2 separate regions of the Homo sapiens genome follow, and region 2 is linked to region 1. Evidence: promoter capture Hi-C in 16 types of primary human blood cells and fetal thymus (Javierre and others, 2016). All regions are on one chromosome and are shown on one strand. Each heading gives the region's core, a stretch centred on a gene start or on the middle of the fragment in contact. The rest is flanking DNA. Distances are from core to core; before and after follow the strand shown. Region 1 holds the start of HOMER3 (homer scaffold protein 3). Region 2 overlaps KLHL26 (kelch like family member 26).

Region 1 (2,774 bases), core at 220-2,719:
AATGGGGCGTTGAGAGGTGTGTAGTACCAGGAGACCAGTTCCCCACTACACCCTGCAGAGGGACCCCACCCCCAGCAGCTCCCACCCTAGGGCAGAAGCACACCTTGAAGTCCAGAGTCCAAATCCCCAGGGAGCCCCCAGCCAAGTTAAAAAGACAAGATGTAGACAAACAGCCAATCCCAATGCCCACCATGAGGGCAGAGCAGAATCCACACTGGGAGACCAGGGCTCCCCAACCTCCCCATTGGGCCATTCAGCAACCCCGAATCTGCAGGGGACCAAGGAGGAGTTTGGAGGAGGGGGAAGACAGGTGGGGGAGGGGAGGCCCTGGCCCAGCGGCCTCTGTGGTCAAAGGGGGGATGCCCCCCCTATCCTGTCCTGGGCAGCTGCTGTCCTGGTCACAGGGTCTGAAACCGGAGCCCCTGAGTGGGGGTGGGGCGGCAGCTCTGGCCTGGACTGGGGGCGGGTCCTGCGCCGGGTGGGAGTTGGGGAACACAGGGGTCCCCGGAACCCAGGCCCTTCCGGTCCGGCAGCTCCTGCTGCGACTTGCAGCGTTTGGGGAAAGTTACTCACCAACTAGTCATGCGCCTCGGATGCCGCCGGCCACGGGGCTCCCGGAGGGGGGTCCGACACCGCCCGGTGCCCGGGATCCCCAATCTGGCCGGTGGATGAGGCCCCATCCCATGCACCCGAGTGCGGGGGACGGGGGGGTTAATATTAATTCAGGATCCCATCCCCACCCGAGGCAGGACACCCAGTGCACGCCCCAACTCCGGGACGCGGGCTCTGACCCTGGAACTTCCGAGATTCCCGCGACGCCCCCTGTCTCTGGGTCCAGAACTTCGGGGGACACCTCTTCTGCCTCCTCCAACCCCAGGTCGGTAACTCCGGGGACTCCCTTCGTGACTCCTCCTCTAACTGGGTCCGGGACCCCGGTCCTCCGCGTTGTCCTAGACTCCTAAACTTCGAGGACCCCCTGCCACCCCTCCAGTCCCTGGGTCCGGGACGTCCGGACCCCTCCCACCCCAGTACCCCACCCCAGGTCCGCAGCTTTGGGGACCTCTTCGCAGCCTCCTCCAACGCCGGGTCCAGAACTTTGGGAACCTCCCACGCAGTCCCCTCTCAGACCCTGAATCCAGAACTTCGGGACCCCCGCGCTCCCTCCAGCCCTGGAACTTGGGGACCCCTCGCGCCGCTCCCAGTCCCGGGTCCGAAACTTCTGGGGAACCCCCACGCCCTCCCCTTGGCCCTGGGACTTCGAGGCCCCCGCGCTCCCAGCGCAGGCTCGGCAGGCCGGGCTCACCCTGCCAGGTCGGCGCCCCGCGAGTGTCCAGGCGCGAGTCGGGTGCGGCCCCCGCGGCGCTGACTCCGCGCTGCCGGGCGCCCCGCTCGCTCCCTGGCTCCCGGGCCCGCGCCCTCCGCGCCGCCCTCCACGCCGCCCGTGCCTTTGTCTGCGCCGCCGCCGCCCGCGCCGCCTCCGGTCCCATCGCGGCCGGTCCCGACGCGGCCGCCGCCCGCCCCGCCTCCCCGGGCCGCCAAGGCCGCCCCGCTGCGCCCCCTGCCGGCTTTTTGCACTGGGAGAGGGTATGGGGGAGGGGATAAGGGGGAGGGGCGGGGGCCGGGACTGGGGAAGGGACGGAGGATTGAGGGAGGGGGTTAGGGGCGGTGGAGGGGGAGTGGGGGGGGGGGTTGCGTGGGGTCGGGTTGGGAGCAGAGGGTGGGGACAGAGAGACAGACGGAGAGGGACATCTGGGATGAGAAAGAGACCCAGAAACAGAGACACGGGGGAGACAGGCGGAGAGATAGGAAGCAGATGGAGAGAGTTGCACGGACAGCGATGTGACCTCACCCTCCTGTCACCTTCTCAGGAGACAGCTGCCTCTGTCCCCACTACCTGAGGTCATAACTTTGGGCCTGTGAGGGAGGTCAGGTCCCTCCCGGGCTGACATGGGTGGCCCAGTGAGGTTGGGGAGGGGGCAGTGGGTCTCAGGGTCTGCATACAGTAAGTGCTCAATGGGTGTTGCCAGGAAACGGAAGAGATCAACTTCGGGAGGGAACGGGAAGCAAGACAAAGAGAGAGAAGCCTCTGTTCCCCTGCCCGTCCCATCCCTAAGCAGGGACGTCTGTCCACCTCTGTCCCTCCCAAGACGATGGTAAAAATGCCCACAATGGTTGGATTAAGGTTATCTTTGCTGTTGTTTGAGGGTTCCAAAATCCAAAGGCTGAGGAAATGTCTCCAACGCATGGTTGCATCCCCTCAGCCTCCACTGGCCTGCGTTTGTCACCTCTGGTCACAGGGAGCACCCCCTTCCCACACTTGCCAGGAGAGCATCCTTCCGGAGTTGAACTAGGATCCACCTCCCCAGCCCCAAGCCCATGTGTCCCACTTGTCAATCCTGGTGCCGCCCCCTCTCTGGCACCGTCTCCAAAATCACACGGTGCGGCGCCGTTGGTTCGTTTGTGGACAGAGGTCCTGCAGCTCCCTGGAACCAAGGCCTGTGGCGCCCTAAAGCTCTGATCTTACATTTGAGTTTTTCTTTTCTTTTCTTTTCTTTTTTTTGAGACAAAGTCTCACTCTGTTGCCCAGGCTGGAGTGCAGTGGCACAATCTCGGCTTACTGCAGCCTCTGCCTCCCAGATTCAAGCAATTCTCCTGCCTCAGCCTCCCGAGTAGTTGGGACTACAGGTGCATGCCACCACACCTGGCTGATTTTTGTATTTTTAGTAGAGATGGGGTTTCACCATGTTGGCCAGTCTGGTCTCGAACTCCTGACC
Region 2 (2,849 bases), core at 262-2,761, 300 kb before region 1:
TTTCATGAGCTTCTTAGCTATTCATCTCTTTGGTAACGTGTCTTTTCAAATGTTTGGGCCATTTTTAAGTTGGGTTGCCTTTTTTTTTTTTTTTTTTTTAAGACTGAGTCTCGCTTTGTTGCCCAGGCTGGAGTGCAGTGGTGCGATCCTAGCTCATTGTAACCTCCACCTCTTGGGTTCAAGCGATTTTCATGTCTCAGCCTCCCGAGTAGCTGGGATTACAGGTGCATGCTACCACACCCGGCTAATTTTTGTATTTTTAGTGGAGACGGGGTTTCACCATGTTGGCTAGACTGGTCTCAAACTCCTGACCTCAGGTGATCTGCCTGCCTCAGGCTCCCAAAGTGCTGGGATTAGAGGCATGAGCCACCACACCCGGCTCTTTTTCTTTTTTCTTTTTTTTTTTTTTGAGATGGAGGCTTGCTCTGTTGCCCAGGCTAGAGTGCAGTGGCGTGATCTTGGCTCACTGCAACCTCTGCCTCCCAGGTTCAAGCAATTCTCCTGCCCCAGCCTCCCGAGTAGCTGGGATTACAGGCGTGTGCCACCACACCCGGCTAATTTTTGTATTTTTAGTAGAGACGGGGTTTCTCCATGTTGGTCAGGCTGGTCTCGATCTCTTGACCTTGTGATCTGCCCGCCTCAGCCTCCCAAAGTGCTGGGATTACGGCGTGAGCCACCATGCCCGGCCCTCTTTCTTAAAAGACATCTTTGTCATTCTCCCCTATCCTCCATCCTAGTGAAAAATCACTGTTTGGAGCAACTGATAGGGGCATCTCATGCCTCAGGTGCTAGTGTGGGGAGAACCCCTAATGTGGCAAGATGGAGCATGCAGAAAATGGATCATATTTTGAGGGAGATTGGTACAAGACATTCTCCCAAAAGTCATTTTGAGACATTGAGTCTTTGTAGCATTGTTCGTCTGTTCCTTCATTTATTGCAAATGGGACAGCCAGGCCTGGAGCACGACCCACCTCCTCGCCTCAACCTGCCCACGTCTCCTTCCTCTTCATCCTTCCACTCTCCAAGGTTCTGGCCCCTCAGAGCCACCTGCCTGACCATGCAAGCTCAAGTAGTCCCCAGGACACTTTTGCTAGTCACCTAGTGTGTGTGTGTGTGTGTGTGTGTGTGTGTGTGTGTGTGTGTGTTTGAGATGGAGTTTCGCTTTTGTTGCCCAGGCTGGAGTGCAGTGGCATGGTCACTGCAACCTCCACCTCCCGGGCTCAAGCAACTGATTCTCTTACCTCAGCCTCCCGAGTAGCTGGGATTACGGGCGCCTGCCACCAAGCCTGGCTAATTTTGTATTTTTAGTAGAGGTGGGGTTTCTCCATGTTGGCCAGGCTGGTCTGGAACTCCTGACCTCAGGTGATCTGCCTGCCTGGGCCTCCCAAAGTGCTGGGATTACAGGCGTGAGCCACTGCGCCCGGCTTGTGGTTTTTTGTTTGTTTGTTTGGTTTGGTTTGAGGAAGAGTCTCACTCTGTCGCCCATGCTGGCATGCAGTGTCGTAGCTACCTGCAGCCTTCTTGACCTCCTGGGCTCAAGCTATCCTTCTGCTTCAGCCTCCCGAGTAGCTGGGACTACAGGCATCTACTAACACACCTAATTTTTTTTTTTTTGAGACATTGTCTCATTCTGTCGCCCAGGCTAGAGTGCAGTGGCACAATCTGGACTCACTGCAACCTCCACCTCCTGGGTTTAAGCGATTCTCCTGCCTCAGCCTCCTGAGTAGCTGGGATTACCAGTGCACGCCACCACGCCCAAATAATTTTTGTATTTTTAATAGAGACGGGGTTTCACCATGTTGGCCAGGGTGGTCTTGATCTCCTGACCTCGTGATCCACCTGCCTTGGCCTCCCAAAGTGTTGGGATTACAGGCGTGAGCCACTGTGCCTAGCCCACACCTGACTAATTTTTAAAAATTGTTTTGGGCCGGGCGCGGTGGCTCATGCCTGTAATCCTAGGACTTTGGGAGGCCGAGGTGGGCAGATCACTTGAGGTCAGGAGTTTGAGACCAGCCTAGCCAACATGGTGAAACCGCTTCTCTACTAAAAATACAAAAATTAGCCAGGATTGGTGGCACGTGCCTGTAATCCCAGCTACTCGGGAGGCTGAGGCAAGAGAATCACTTGAACCCGGGAGGCAGAGGTTGCAGTGAGCTGAGATCGCTCCACTGCGCTCCCACCTGGGCGAGAGAACCAGACTGTCTTAAAAAATATATATATTATTTTATAGAGATGGGGTCTTATTATTATTTTTTTTTGAGATAGAGTTTTGCTCTTGTTGTCCAGGCTATAGTGCAATGGCATGATCTCGGTTCACCAAAACATCCGCCTCCTGGGTTCAAGCGATTCTCCTGCCTCAGCCTCCCGAGTAGCTGAGATTACAGACATGTGCCACCATGCCTGGCTAATTTTGTATTTTTAGTAGAGATGCGGTTTCTCCATCTTGGTCAGGCTGGTCTCGAACTCCTGACCTCAGGTTATCCGCCCACCTTGGCCTCCTAAAGTGCTGCGATTACAGGCATGAGCCACTGTGTCCGGCCAAGATGGGGTCTGATTATGTTGCCCAGGCTGGTCTTGAACTCCTGGGCTCAAGTGATCTTCCTGCCATAGCCTCCCGAAGTGCTGGGATTACAAGCATGAACCACTATGCCCAACCTGTATTTTTGTTTTTTGTTTTTGAGGTACTATATATGTAACACAAAATTCACCCACTTTAAGTGAACAATTCAGTGGCATTTAGTACATTCACAGAATTGTGCAACCATCACTGCTGTCCAGTTCCAAAACATCTTTGTCCCCGCAAAAGGTGACCCCATCTTCATTAGCACTAACCCCCTATTCTCCATTGC

Evidence for each region. Contacts are between HindIII fragments. The CHiCAGO score rates a contact against its expected background, and 5 or more counts as called.
Region 2: a contact is called between a fragment that was not itself captured here and the fragment with the promoter of HOMER3 in region 1, in 2 of 17 cell types (erythroblasts and monocytes). The highest score is 5.7, in erythroblasts.

Annotation. Positions count from the first base shown.
Region 1 is chr19:18,939,748-18,942,521 of GRCh38, forward strand. It overlaps HOMER3 (homer scaffold protein 3), which reads right to left and starts at 1,470. Exons shown (of 10, transcript NM_004838.4): 1 at 1,304-1,470. HOMER3-AS1 (HOMER3 antisense RNA 1) reads left to right here and starts at 507. Exons shown (of 3, transcript NR_134913.1): 1 at 507-877. RefSeq lists a silencer at 1,434-1,633. The HindIII fragment of the contact is 10,102 bases long and covers 1-2,774 here.
Region 2 is chr19:18,641,238-18,644,086 of GRCh38, forward strand. All of the region lies in intron 1 of KLHL26 (kelch like family member 26), which reads left to right. Among named protein-coding and RNA genes, the nearest start is that of KLHL26, 5.6 kb to the left of the region's middle. The HindIII fragment of the contact is 3,768 bases long and covers 1-2,849 here.